Linked DNA regions of Homo sapiens: regions 1, 2, 4 and 5 are each linked to region 3. Evidence: promoter capture Hi-C in 16 types of primary human blood cells and fetal thymus (Javierre and others, 2016). All regions are on one chromosome and are shown on one strand. Each heading gives the region's core, a stretch centred on a gene start or on the middle of the fragment in contact. The rest is flanking DNA. Distances are from core to core; before and after follow the strand shown.

Region 1 (2,700 bases), core at 181-2,680, 450 kb before region 3:
GAATATCTAAGGTATGTGTGCTGTGGCGCCTGCATGTTAAAAAGAGACAGGAGAAAGCCCTGAGGTCAGAAGCCCGGGCTCAGAAGGCAGCTGCCTGTGGTCCAGTTCCTGCTCCACCACTTGCTGCGGTGTGACTTTGTTTGAGTTCATGGCCTTGCTGTGCCTCTGTTTCATCATCTTTAAAATGGGTATGACGAGAATACCCATGCTTTGCACAGAGTAAGAGCTTACTAAATGTTAGCTGTCATGCTGTGTTGCTGCTCACTATTATTATTATTAATTAATCATAACATGATTATTATTACCACCTCCAATGAGATGGGCTGGTTTGAGAACTGAGATTCCATCCTGTGTCTCTTGGCTTGTGTGGTTCCTTTAAAGAGATGTGGAACAAGGTCCCATCTTCTTACCCTGGCATTCCATCACACAGACACACACTGGGTGTGCTGGGAGTCTTCTCCACGCACTCTCATTTGTTTCCCGCAGCAGTGTGGCTCACTTTTTGTTTAATCTCCTCCAGCAACTTGGCAGGCCTGCAGCCACCCTTCACATCCTGGCCTGTCCAGCAGGCTGATAAAATGCAGATGTAGCTACCACCCCGCTCAGAGATCCACCCGCCTCTAGCCTCACTGTCATGGGTCCCAAACATGGATTCTTGGCTGAGGGGCTGAGGGACTGGGATAAGGGGTGGCGGGTTGTGCGAGACAGCCCATAGAGGTCAGAGGGTCCGGGGAACTTTAGAAGTAGCTCTAGGTTCCTTGCATGAGCAGTGTCAGAATTGCAGGCAGGCTGGGGGATAGGCCCCAAGTTGGTGGATCTCCACTTAACAGATTTTTTGGTACTATTTTTTTTAAATAAAAAATTTTGATTTCATAGTTCATTCTTGAGCGTTCAGCTGAAATGAAAAGTGAAAAAGTTTAAGCAATATGTTAAAGGGCAGGGGTGGGGAGGAGCCGGACCTCAGAATGGGAGCCTCAAACTTGAGGCTCACAGGGCCAGCCCATCATGAAAATGAGAGCAATGGCTTGGGCCATGCATTCTGTTTCCCAGGAACTCATGGCCCATCCTGGTTCCTGCCTCCTGTTGAGAATGCTAGCCCATGGGGCCAGATCTGCCAATTTCCCAAGATCATGTAGAAATTGGAATCTTAATGTAAAACTTCCCAATTCTCATGAGAGCCATCTGGACTTTGAAATGTTGGCAATTCATTGAAAAAAATTCTTTTAAATATATTTTTGAGCTGGAATTGAAAATCCACCAGCTTGCAAGGGACTTGAGAGATGCTGTGCTTGTGCCCCTAGGGTTTACAGATGCGGAAACAGAGGTCCAGAGAAAAATGACAGGGCCTGGTACAGTGACTCATGCCTGTAATCCCAGCACTTTGGGAGGCTGAGGTGGGTGGATCAGATGAGGCCAGGAGTTCAAGACCGGCCTGGCCAACATGGAGAAACCCCGTCTCTACTAAACATAACAAAAATTAGCTGGGTGTAATTGCCTATAATCCCAGCTACTTGGGAGGCTGAGGCAGGAGAATTGCTTGAACCTGGGAGACAGAAGTTGCTGTGAGCCAAGATCACGCTACTGCGCTCCAGCCTGGGTAACAGAGTGAGTCTCTGTCTCAAAAAAAAAAAAGGCTTGTCCGTGGAATCCAGCTCTCTGGAGCTCCCACTGCAGATCTATTTCTTCCAATTCCATCCAGACAGTGTGTTTCTGTTTGGCAAGCGGGCTGTTACGTGGAGTTTTATTGCAGGTAAAGGGGTCATCCAAACTGCTCTGTGGAGCTAGCAGAGTGACCACAGGAGCCCCAGGAAGCGTGAGCGTGGTCTTCATTCTCGGTTGAGCCAAAAAGGCTCACACGTTTCCAGACAAGGCTATTCTTGGCAGGGCCACCTCCTAGGGATTAATCATACTGAAAAGCTCACAGATTTAATTTTGCTGAAGTTTGATCTGTTCTAGGAAAGTACATGTAGCGTGGCTCAACAGAGAATTTTCTGCCCAAGGATCTACACGGTTAATATATTTTGGAGATCTCAGCAGAGCACAAAGCAGGCTAGAAAAATTCTCGTGGTGTTAGGCCAATCCAGCTTTGTCCTCTGGCCAGGAAAGTCCAGACTGCCCCTGGACCATGGCACAAACCCAAGGTGCCCAGCTAAGCAGCCCTGCCGGGAAAAGGTGATGAGAAACTTGCCTTTGCTAAAATAGTTGAGCTGCCAAATGATAGCCTGACCTAGGGGCTCAGAAATGAATGTTTCCTGTTATGCAGGAGGAGAGGGGCAGGGTTTGATTCTTGTGTTCTCATGTGCTTGCTCACTCTGCTCGTAATAAGGAGAGAAGTTTTATTTTTGCAAGCTATTGCAGCGTGAGCCCTAAACACCAAAGCCAGTCTCTTGAAGAAAACTGATCAGGATCCAGGAGCAGTTGTCAGGCCCCTGGAGGGTGACTCATGAGCAGCAGAGTTCCCGGAACTCACCCGTCCCTGGTCGGCTAGGAAGAGGCTGAGTGTGGTGGTAAATGTGGAGGGGCGGGCGCAACACTGCAGGCATGGCCTCTGTTTTTGAAAAACATTGTGTGTTCGGGTCAAAGCATCCATCCCCTGTGAGCAACCCAATTTTAAAAATAGGAGGTTCTGCAGAAAACCAAGATGCCTGCCTGTTTTCACCTGGAAGACCAAATTCTCACTTTCCAAGCCTGATTTTGGAA
Region 2 (2,700 bases), core at 179-2,678, 370 kb before region 3:
GGCTAGGAACTATTTTTTACACATCATTTAGTTTGTGCAGGTGTGGGGTAGCATGTTTCTCCCCTGTTTATCACAGACTTGCATTCCTGTTGGAAATGCCCTAGCCATTGTCAATGCTTATAATTGCTTCTTGTTACAGCCACGTGGGGCTTATTGTCCATGATTTTGTTGCAAAGTTTATTGTTTATCTTATACGGTCTCCAGGAAGCTGCATGCGGAAATCTCTCAGCCTTACCAGGAAGTCTGACTTAAAGGGACAGCCTCCAGGGCAGAGCCCTAACTGGGAGGAGGTGCTGAGCTTCCAACCAGGACCAGTTACCTTGGGTGAGAGTTGGAAGCCCTTTCCACCTGTCTCATTTGGTTTGCTATTTTCCAGTGTTTTGGTGATTCCTTTCTGATTCTGAATTAAGGGAGAAAAAGTGGCAATACCAATTCTTCATGTACACATGAACACACCCAAAACATAACAAAACAAAAAACCACTTTCACTGGTGTTTAGGCAGAATGAACACTCTGAGTCATGGGACACACATGCTTTTAAATCTCTTGGTTTCTTGGGGGTATTTTCATAAAAGTCTTGAACTTTCTAGATGGATACAGGGATTTCAGGGAAGTCAGCATTGTAAGATTAAAAAAATAAATATGACTTAAGTTTTAACTATGCTCTCATTTTTTTTCTCTATTGGAAGGAAGAAGGGAAATGGGAAACTGCTAGTTTCTATTACCTTTTTCTTAGATGCCCAGTTGACAGTCAAATCAGGATAGAAAAATCAAACTCTGGATTTCAGATTTGGTACTGCTTTTCAATTTGCTAGGAGGAAAATTTGAACCAGTTTCCATCGTTACACCAAAAAATTTCCTCTTCTGTTTGAAAAAAAATAAATTATTACTGTGCCTTTGTCTTTTAAAAAATATTTTATTATGGAAAAATTAAAACCTATACAAAAATAGAAACAATAGTATGATGGCCCAAAGTTCCCATCATCCATTGTTCTGCTTCTTTTTTTGAGACGGAGTCTTGCTCTGTTGCCCAGGCTGGAGTGGCACGATCTTGGCTCACTGCAACCTCTGCCTCCTGGGTTCAAGTGATTCTCCTGTCCCAGCTTCCCGAGTAGCTGGTATTATAGGCACACGCCACCATGCCCAACTAATTTATATATATATATATATATATATATATATATATATATATATATATATATATTTAGTAGAGATGGGGTTTTGCCATTTTGGCCAAGCTGGTCTTGAACTCCTGACCTCAGCTGATCCTTCCGCCTACGCTTCCCAAAGTGTTGGGATTACAGGCGTGAGCCACTGCACCCAGGCTGTTCTGCTTTTAAATACATATGTCAGTTAGTATCCTACCATCCTCCCTGCAACCTGCTAGGGATAAAGGAGTCATTCCTGTTTTACAGATAAGGAAACTAAAGATCAAGGAAATTAAGAGTGACTTACCAGGTCATTCAACTAGTAAATGGCAGAGCCAAAAATCACAGAGCCCAAATATTAATTTATTGTTAACTATTCCAGCCAGATGGTTTTTCCCAGAAATTATCCCTAAAGAGTTATCTGAAGTCAAAATAATGGTGAGAAACTTTTTAATAAGAATGATTCTTGCTTTTGTTATATATTTTTAACTTGGAAATTCGGTGTGTCAAGCATTGTTTTTTGATCTAGGCAGATTACTTTTAAAAATCCTCCTGAGTATTCATGTAAGTGTCAGAAATACCCCTCCCTCCCACCCCCATATTCAGATTTTCCACTTCCAACCAACTTTGACAGTGCAATGCCAAATAGTAAGTCTCATTTCCAAGTAAGGAAGCCCTTTGGCTGATAGATATCAGCTAATCAGTTTTTAAACTTTTTTTTCTTCCTAAAAATTGTGCAGAGGTCAGTAACCCACAGACAGGAGTTTCACTTTTAACTGACAGTGTAAGGAAGGAGACTTGACAGTTTCTTGAAAAAGCTGCACCCAGGGTGTTTATGTTTCTAAGAAATAAACTGGATGAGCTTATTTGCAAGCGGCCCCTGTGTGCTTCATGCAGAAATTCTTCAGGTGGCCCTTGCTTCTTGTGTTAGTCAAGGAGGCAGAACCGCAGCGGCCAGGCCGGTGGCTGCTTCACAGCATACATCAGCTTTCCTTTTTTTTTTTTGCATTCACTTTTAAAAATAGCTGCCCATGTATCAGTTGCCAAAATAATGTGAGGAATCTGGTTATAAAAGTTCAGATTTGTTTAGAGAGAATAAAGACAGAGCTCAGGCGATTGCTTGTAACAAAACCAGTAAGATAAGCACTCAAGATTAGCCATGACTAGCAATCGTTGAGACTTCCATGTTCCAGCATCATTTATTTTTAGTTCCTGTGTTGAAACCATAGATGAAGACTTTTCTATTTATTCATTCTTGACCTTGAGCAGCCAGGTCTGCTCCCACATTCTTCTCATCATTTTATAATCTTGTTGAGCTGGGATACTAAGCAGGGCTCTCCAAGAGCATCAACATTTTCAAATGTTCACAGTCTCTTGAGTTGAACCACCTTGAGTCCAATAGGCCTTGGCCTGGGAAAGTGTCTGGACACCGCTGCTCCATTTGTCTAGAGTTCATGGTGAAGCAGGCAGAGGAATTGTTCAGGTTTTACTTGGATTAACCACCCTTCCAGCTTTGAGGAGTAGATAAAGACATTCAATAAAAGTGCATGAC
Region 3 (2,700 bases), core at 107-2,606:
CTCACATAAGTTAAAGGAACAAGATATATTTAACCGCCATTCATTAGTTTCATAATGAACTCATGACTAAAACATTCTATGGAGTGCTGGAGCATCGATATGACTACTAACAATGCCATCAAGGTTAGTAACTGCTTGAGCAAAGAGTACCACTTTCAATATTTCAAATAATACATAGTGATATTTAGTATGGTGCTTTATACGTGCATATCAGAAGCAAAGGCATAAAGTAACAGTAGCCACTGCCAACAAAACTTGAACGTCTGTTAAGGTCCTAAAACTCCACTGAGAACAAAAATGGCAGCCCATACATACAGTCCATAATTCAGAGAGAGAAAATTAAATCCAGCAAGCCAGTCAAGGGAGAGAGAGGCTGGGAAAGGTCTGATTAGGAATGCGAAATTTGCGGTGTTGCTCAGGTAGGGGAAATCAAATTACCTCACCTTAACTATTAAAGGTAAAACACTGGAAAGAATAGGTTTTACGGCTTTCCTTATTGTAGGGTTATGAACAGTTCGTGTTTATGTTGGTGAAACGTCACCAAGAAAGAAAAGAGCTTCAATGGTAAAGTACCTTCAATGACGCACTGCACTGTAATCTCCTTAAGGGACACACTATCTTATTTATTTCCATATCCCCAGATTCTAAAACATAATAACATTTGCTGAACGATGTGTAGTTAGGTCTGAGTTTGGTGGCTTCTCATCTTCTCAAAATATCAAACTTGCGAGTGATGAAGACCATGCACCAGCCCTTTTTATTTATTCACCCCTACTTAAGGAGCGCCTACTAGGTGTTAGGCACTGGTACTACATCGATTTCTTGAGAAGCCTGGTTCCCCGCCTCGTGGGCCTAAAACGAATTTGGGCGTTTCAACATTCTGCAAGACTCCAAAAACAAGGTGGCGAAGAACCCGGGGCATGGGCCAGGAGTCCTCCCCAGGAGCCGCCACGCTTCCTCTAACTGTCTCGTCATTTCTCTCCTTTCCTCCTCACCTCTCTTCCCTCCTCATCCTGAGGTAAATAAGGGACCGAAAGGGGATCACTGGCAGTTTTAATGCTAGTCATTAAGTGAAAACGTAAGGTCTGTGGAGTCGCTAAGGGCCGACCCATCTGCCTCGATCTTCTACCCGAGAACTGGGCTCTGCCCCTCTCGGCGGCGCAGGTTGGGAACGTTCTCCAGTAAAGACTCCAAGGGACAACCCAGACACACATGCCTCCCTCTCCGCTGACGACCACCTTGCTTACCCCAGCTTACCCCAGCTTACCCCTGCTTACCCCAAGTTCATGGCCTGACCTCGCACTCTCTCCACAGAACGCTCAAGCCCCTTGTGTACGTCGGTTGCCGCCGCCGCTCAGCAAGCGCTACGCCAATTGGATATAGGGGTGCCGGCGAGCTGAGCAAGTGGACCAATCAGGGTGGGGCATGCTGGCGGGTGCGCTGAGCTGGGCCGGGGCTCCCGCGGGGACGGTTGCGTATGCCGTTTGTTCCCCTTTTGTGCCCCGTTTGTGCCGTTTGTTCCCCTACGCACAGCGGAATTTGGCCTGACCCGGCTTATGAGTCTAAAGCTTCGGTGGCGGAGACCTGCGCTTCTCGCAATTGTAGCCTTCCAAAGCGCGTACACAGACACACACACACACACACACACACACACACACACACACACACACACACACACACACACACACCTTTTTGGGGTCACCATTTGCAAGTAAGTTACAGACATTGTAACACTTAACCCTTTAACATTGCAGACATTGTAACACTTAACCCTTTAACATTGCAGCATGTATCTCCTAAGAATAGATGTTCTGCTACATAACCGCAGTACAATTATTATACCTAAGATCATTAATTTCATAATAATTCTCTTCCCGATTTAATTTCCCCCACTTGTCCTAAGAATATCTTATAGGCATTTTATTTAGAAAGCAAGAGCCAATCGCGCCACTGCATTCCAGCAGCTTGGGCGACAGAGTGAGACTCCGTCTCAAAAAAAAAAAAAAAAAATGCAAGAGCCGATCAAGGATCACACATTACATTTGGTTGTTAAGTATCTTTGCACACACTCTTTCCAGACAAAAACAATGAAAGGTATTAATTATTAAATGCCTGACAAACCTTTACTTTTTTATTTTTTATTGTTGTAATATGTGTGTTAAAATTTGCTATTTTTAGCCATTTTCAAGTGACAATTCCATGATACAATGTTGTGGAATACGCCAGTATATTTTTCCAAAAGCTTTTTAGTACCCCCAAATAAAAATTCTGTACCCATTAAGCAACAACTTCCCATTTTCCTCTCCCCTCAATCCTAAGAAACCTCTAATCTTATTTCTGTCTCTAGGAATTTGCCTATTATAGATACTTCATGTCATAAAAGTGGAATCATACAATATTTGTCCTTTTGTGTCTTCTCTCAAGTAACATAATGTATTCAAGGTGCATCCATGTTGTAGGATGTATCAGAGCTTCATATCTGTTTATGATTGAATAGTATTCCATTCTATGTATATATATACCACAATTCGTTTACTCATTCATCCATTAATAGACATTTGGGTTGTTTCCATCTTTTAGTTATTGTGAATAATGCTGTAGTGAACACTGATGTACAAGTATCTGTTTGAATCCCTATTTTCAATTTTCTTGGTATACACCTAAGAGTGGAATTACTGGGTCACATGGTAATTCTATGGT
Region 4 (2,700 bases), core at 75-2,574, 430 kb before region 3:
CGGAGTGTCTCTCTGTACACTTTGGAGTCTAGTCAAGAGGACAGCCTCTTAAAATGGAAATGGGGCACTGCTGTGGGCCACCTGTGGACACTTGATTGCTCTCCCCAAGTTACTTGTATTCTCTGAGGCAGATGTCACGCTACAGCATCCACAGGGCCATTTCTAGTGCACCAGCAAAAAAAAAACGCAAGCGAGGAGTGGAATAAAATGCTCCTTGACCTTGTCCTTTCTTTCATCTCTTATCCTTTTAGGAAAAGAAGACTTTTTGTTTTCAGTTCAGATTTTAAAAAAGAACTAAATAGGGTACTTGAGACTTGCCACCCGGCAGCGGAGCTGGAGCCCTCCGGGAGGCATGGACGAAGTAATCAACTGAAGTTTTCTAATACCGGCCAGCAGAGGGCACTCTTCACTCACAATCGGTGCTGTCTTTCTCCTTGGAAACGTTCAGTGGCTGCAGGAGCCCTGGAAAAAATTGTCTTCCAGCTATTTGTAATTTAACTTTGAGTCCTCAAGAGGGTACCTTCCCCTTTTAGAGTTGCAGTGTTGGTGCTATTATTTTAACACCCGCATCTGCTGTTGTCTGGGCATCAAAGTCTAGAAAAGTCATGAGGGAGATGCATTCTCCAAGGTTCTGAGCACAAGATTCAGACAGAAACGGGGCCAGATGGGCACATACTGTTGCATAAACACCAATTAATTAATACTGGGCTCCAGATGAGCCCAGCCTGCCAAACTCGTGAGCTTCACACCTCCATGGTCTGGGCCCTGCCTCCCTTTGGTACAAAAATTAAAGAGACAGTTGCAAAAACCAGAGCATTCACTGGCCAGTCCTAGTAGGGAACAACACTGGGACATGCAGGGCACTGTGCTTCCCATGGGGACACTTTAATTCTTTCCTGTGGATTCTTCCTCTCCCTGCCAACATACTTTTAATCTTGTTGATGCTATTAATAATAATGACAGGTGACATTTATTGTGCTCTTATCATGTGCTGGGCACTTTTATGACTACTAGCTTATTTAACTCTCTTAGGCCAGGTGGGGTGGCTCATGCCTGTAATCGCAGCACTTTGGGAGGCCGAAGCGGGTGGATCACGAGATTAGGAGTTCAAGACCAGCCTGACCAACATGGTGAAACCCCGTCTCCACTACAAATACAAAAAAATTAGCTGGGCATGGTGGCGTGCGTCTGTAGTCCCAGCTACTCAGGAGGCTGAGGCAGGAGAATCACTTGAACCTGGGAGGCGAAGGTTGCAGTGAGCCAAGATCGCGCCACTGCACTCCCCTGCCTGGGCGACAGAGTGAGACTCCATCTCAAAACAAACAAACAAAAACAAAACACAAAACCAAAGAAAACAAAACAACCCTCTTAAAGTCCCAAGAGGTGGGGAACTGCTGGAACTTCTGAGGTTTTGTGAGGGTCAGGTACTTGCTGAGGGTCACTTAGCAGGTGAAGGAGGAGCCAGGTTGACCCCTCAGAGCTGTTGCCCATACCTGTCTGTCACCCATTTGTGGAGTCCCATTTATGCTCTGGACATCAGGTGGTAAGCCAGTGGTGTGCACACAAGACACAGTGCATCTCTGGCTAATTTTAATTATTTTAGTTTTGAATGTGTTAATCAAATACTTGAAAATTGAAAAGGAAGAGAAAGCCAGCCAGCCCTCAGAGAGCATACGCTGTGAGTGGAGGCCCTGAGGTGTCCATGTTCCTGAGGTGGTCTCTTAGTGGCTGCAGGATTGGCTGTGCACGGTAGGGGGAGTGAGGTTAGTGGGGCTGGCTCCTTCCTTTCCTTCCTTCTAGATCAACTCTGCTTCTACCAGGTTTATGTAGGATTGGGCTTGACCCAAGGTTTCTGCTGCTGAGAAGCTCTCAGCAAAACCCCAGTGTAGTGGCTCTTAGCTAAGGGCATGCCCAGGAGTGTTCATCACCCCGTCCCCAGAGTCCCTTTCATCTTCTGTTTCTCTTTCCAGCAGCTCCTTCCCTCCTGCCTGCAGATTGGGCCTGGAGCCTCCTGTGCCAAACACTTCCCTCCTACTCCTGCTCAGCCGTTGCATTGCCCAGAGCTCAGCCCAGTGCTGGTGCTGGTAACAGTTGAGAGACAAAGAGGGGGAGCCCTGAAGTCAGAGCTCTGCTCTCCCTGTGGCCGGCACATGATTATGCCCCAGATTCCTCATCTGCAAGATGGTGATGTTAACAGAATCTGTCCAGAAAGTATGGACTATAATGAGGCGTTGGCAACCCAGAGTTACTTGTTTGTTTGTTTTCTGAGTCAGGGTCTCACTCCATCACCCAGGCTGGAGTATAGTGGGACGATCACAGCTCACTGCAGCTTTGACCTCTTGGGCTCAAAGGATCCTCCCATCTTAGCCTTCCTAGTAGCTGGGACTACAGGCATGCATCACCATGCCCAGCTAATTTTTTCAATTTTTGTAGAGATGGGGTTTTGCCATCTTACCCAGGCAGGTCTCGAACTCCTGGCCTCATGTGATCCTCCCATCATGGCCTCCCAAGGTGTTGGGATTACAGGCATGAGCCATCACACCCGGCCTCCAAAGTGTTTTAAACATCACTTCACCCGCAGTAAGGATTCAATATCCATGGACCATCATTACTATTAAGATTATGACCATCACTCCAGACCTATTTTTATTTTTATCTTTTTTTTTTTCAAAATTCGCATGCGTTTATCCTCTTTTCTGC
Region 5 (2,700 bases), core at 153-2,652, 330 kb before region 3:
TGGAGTAGGGGCCAGGCACGGTGGGTCACACCTGTAATCCCAGCACATTGGGAGGTGGAGGCGAGAGGATTGCTTGAGCTCAGAAGTTTGAGACCAGCCTGCAAGACATAGGGAGATCTCGTCTCTATTTTTTTTTTTTTTTTTTACTTTTTAAAAATGGAGTTGGTGCTCCTTCTTTCAATTCTCTCATTCACTTCTGGAGCTTCAGACTGGAGAAGAACAAAATGTGGATCCTCTCCCTGCTAAAACGTGAATTTAGCAAGTCAAGTTCCAGCTAAGGGCAAGTACAAGAACACAAAATCCTTTTGCTAATCTTTCCGCAAAGAAAGAGCAGATGAAAGGCAAGGCATCAAAGCCTCTGAAACCACCAAAGTTGTTTGCCAGCAAAGAGATAAATCAAAAAGGTTCGAGATCTGGTTTGAATTTAATAATTACAAATGACTAATCAGGGACTATTTGCTGCCAAGTCAGGAGCTGCACTCTCTCAATCAGTACGTTTTTGCTGCTCTGGTCACCTGGTTATTAAATAGAAAAGCCCAGTGATTAAATAACAGGGTTGTTCTGACACTAATCAGTTCAATCTTGGCCATTTAAAATTAAGTCAGGCTTGCAGTAGCCCTTGTCTCTGTGAAAGAAGTGGGAACGACACAGTGCAAATGTGACTGAAGGTATCCTGAGAGTGTTTGTGGATAGTCCTCTGGGACCTGGGTAGTTAGAAAGAGTCAGGCAGCGTACCAGGTCTCCTGCCCATCATTCTGCAGGATCCTGCCATCTCTAATACCCTCCCTGCCTGACTCTCAACATCAAATAACAACAAAATAATTATGCCAGCAGTGACAGCAGTAGTAATAGTAATTACGGTAATAACCGCAGTAGCAATAATAATTACATTTTTCAAATCTCTTGCCATATGTCTGGCTCTGTTCGAAATATTTTATTTCTTTTAATACTTGAAATAACCCCATGATGGAGAAAACCAAAGCTTATAGAACTGCTTTATAGACACTGACGTATCCCATACACTTAGAACCTGCCTGGCACATAGTAAATGCTCAGTAAATATTTGTTGAGTGAATGAAGGAATAGAGAAGTAATTTGCCCAAGGTCACACCAAGTAGCAAAGGTGGAGCTGCATTTTGAACTGTCTCATTTATGCTCTTAGTTTCTTTGAGGTATGTAGGTAAATGCCTTGTGGGTCTTTTTATATTGTTTTAAAACACATATGATTTTAAACAATTATTTATGTATTTATTTATTTATTTATTGAGAAGGAGTCTTGCTCTGTCACCCAGGCTGGAGTGCAGTGGTGCGACCTTGGCTCACTGCAGCCTCTGCCTCCTGGGTTCCAGCGATTCTCCTGCCTCAGCCTTCTGGATAGCTATGATTACAGGCGCACGCTACCACGCTCAGCTAATTTTTGTATTTTTAGTAGAGATGAGGTTTCACCATGTTGGCCAGGCTGGTCTCAAACTCCTGACCTCAGGTGATCCGCCCATCTCGGCCTCCCAAAGTGCTGGGATTACAAGCATGAGCCACTGCGCCCAGCCATGAAACAAATATTTAAATGTATTTTACCTTATTTGTATGTATTAATTTAAAGGAAACGCAGATTGTTTTTAAACAATGTACAAAGAGAAATAGCATCATATGCAGAGAGGTCAGTGGTTTGGCAGTCAGGGTGGCCTCCAGAAAATCCTCTCTCCAGCACTCACTCACTTTGTGACCTTGAGCAAGTTACTAAAACCTTCCTGAGCTTCAGCGTTCCTCTCTGTTAAAATGAACACCACAAGGCTTACTTAAACCGGGCTGAGGAGAAGCTTAAATGGCACAATCCATTAAACTGAGAGCATAGTCCTTGGCTCATAGTAGGTGCCCAATTCCAGCGTCTGTTTCCCTCCACTTTTGTATTGGAAGGCACCTGGTGATTTTCTCAAAACCTCAAAGGAGGTCTGGAGAGGATGGAAGTTAAGCCAGGTAAGGACACGCTATTCAGGCTTGGACCACGGCCAGCTCTTCTGAGAATCTGTTGTCGGGTAAGGATAGGATCAGTGCTTTTCACAGAGAATCTTCCCCAGGACAACCGAAAAGGCAGTTTGTTCATGGGTTATTTACCGATGAGATTCAGATGTCTGCCTTGTGATATCAGAAGGTAGCCAACCCTAAAAAGAGATAGCCACAGAGTGTCCTGGAAACAATAATGTTTGTGAAAGTGGGTCGAAAGGTTCAGGTGAAGGTCAAGCTAGCAGGATCTCTCAAGCAGAGGCAGTAACGAGTCTCTGGCAATGTTCACTTGATCCTTCCAGGAATACCCATATCTCCATGAGACCTCCCATTGGAATATGCACAGGACTTTGCTCTATTGCAAATTAGCAAAGGGACCCCCTGGTCATTTTTGTTTTTTGTTTTTGTTTTTGTTTTTTTTTGAGATGGAGTTTCGTTCTTATTGCCCAGGCTGGAGTGCAATGGTGCGATCTCGGCTCACCGCAACCTCCGTCTCCCAGGTTCAAGCGATTCTCCTGCCTCAGCCTCCCAAGTAGCTGAGATTACAGGTGCACACAATCATGCCCAGCTAATTTTTACATTTTTAGTAGAGACGGGGTTTCACCATATTGGCCAGGCTGGTCTGGAACTCCTGACCGCAGGTGATCCAACTGCCTCGGCCTCCCAATGTGCTGGAATTACAGGCGTGAGCCACCATGC

The links. Contacts are between HindIII fragments. The CHiCAGO score rates a contact against its expected background, and 5 or more counts as called.
Region 1: a fragment that was not itself captured here is called in contact with the fragment with the promoter of CCDC66 in region 3 in 1 of 17 cell types (activated CD4 T cells); the score reaches 5.8 in activated CD4 T cells.
Region 2: a fragment that was not itself captured here is called in contact with the fragment with the promoter of CCDC66 in region 3 in 4 of 17 cell types (naive CD4 T cells, total CD4 T cells, total CD8 T cells and 1 more); the score reaches 9.2 in naive CD4 T cells.
Region 4: a contact is called between a fragment that was not itself captured here and the fragment with the promoter of CCDC66 in region 3, in 9 of 17 cell types (total CD4 T cells, naive CD8 T cells, naive CD4 T cells and 6 more). The highest score is 14.4, in total CD4 T cells.
Region 5: a fragment that was not itself captured here is called in contact with the fragment with the promoter of CCDC66 in region 3 in 1 of 17 cell types (naive CD8 T cells); the score reaches 5.0 in naive CD8 T cells.

Annotation. Positions count from the first base shown.
Region 1 is chr3:57,007,415-57,010,114 of GRCh38, reverse strand. It overlaps a transcript of ARHGEF3 not described here. Among named protein-coding and RNA genes, the nearest start is that of SPATA12, 52 kb to the left of the region's middle. RefSeq lists an enhancer at 2,240-2,534. The HindIII fragment of the contact is 4,420 bases long and covers 1-2,700 here.
Region 2 is chr3:56,921,530-56,924,229 of GRCh38, reverse strand. It overlaps a transcript of ARHGEF3 not described here. Among named protein-coding and RNA genes, the nearest start is that of ARHGEF3-AS1, 17 kb to the left of the region's middle. The HindIII fragment of the contact is 5,814 bases long and covers 1-2,700 here.
Region 3 is chr3:56,555,831-56,558,530 of GRCh38, reverse strand. CCDC66 (coiled-coil domain containing 66) reads right to left here and starts at 1,356. Exons shown (of 18, transcript NM_001141947.3): 1 at 1,278-1,356. The coding sequence starts at 1,288. RefSeq lists enhancers at 941-1,100, 569-1,240, 1,241-1,913. The HindIII fragment of the contact is 1,896 bases long and covers 1-1,570 here.
Region 4 is chr3:56,986,778-56,989,477 of GRCh38, reverse strand. It overlaps a transcript of ARHGEF3 not described here. Among named protein-coding and RNA genes, the nearest start is that of ARHGEF3-AS1, 48 kb to the right of the region's middle. The HindIII fragment of the contact is 9,338 bases long and covers 1-2,700 here.
Region 5 is chr3:56,888,627-56,891,326 of GRCh38, reverse strand. It overlaps a transcript of ARHGEF3 not described here. Among named protein-coding and RNA genes, the nearest start is that of ARHGEF3-AS1, 50 kb to the left of the region's middle. The HindIII fragment of the contact is 835 bases long and covers 985-1,819 here.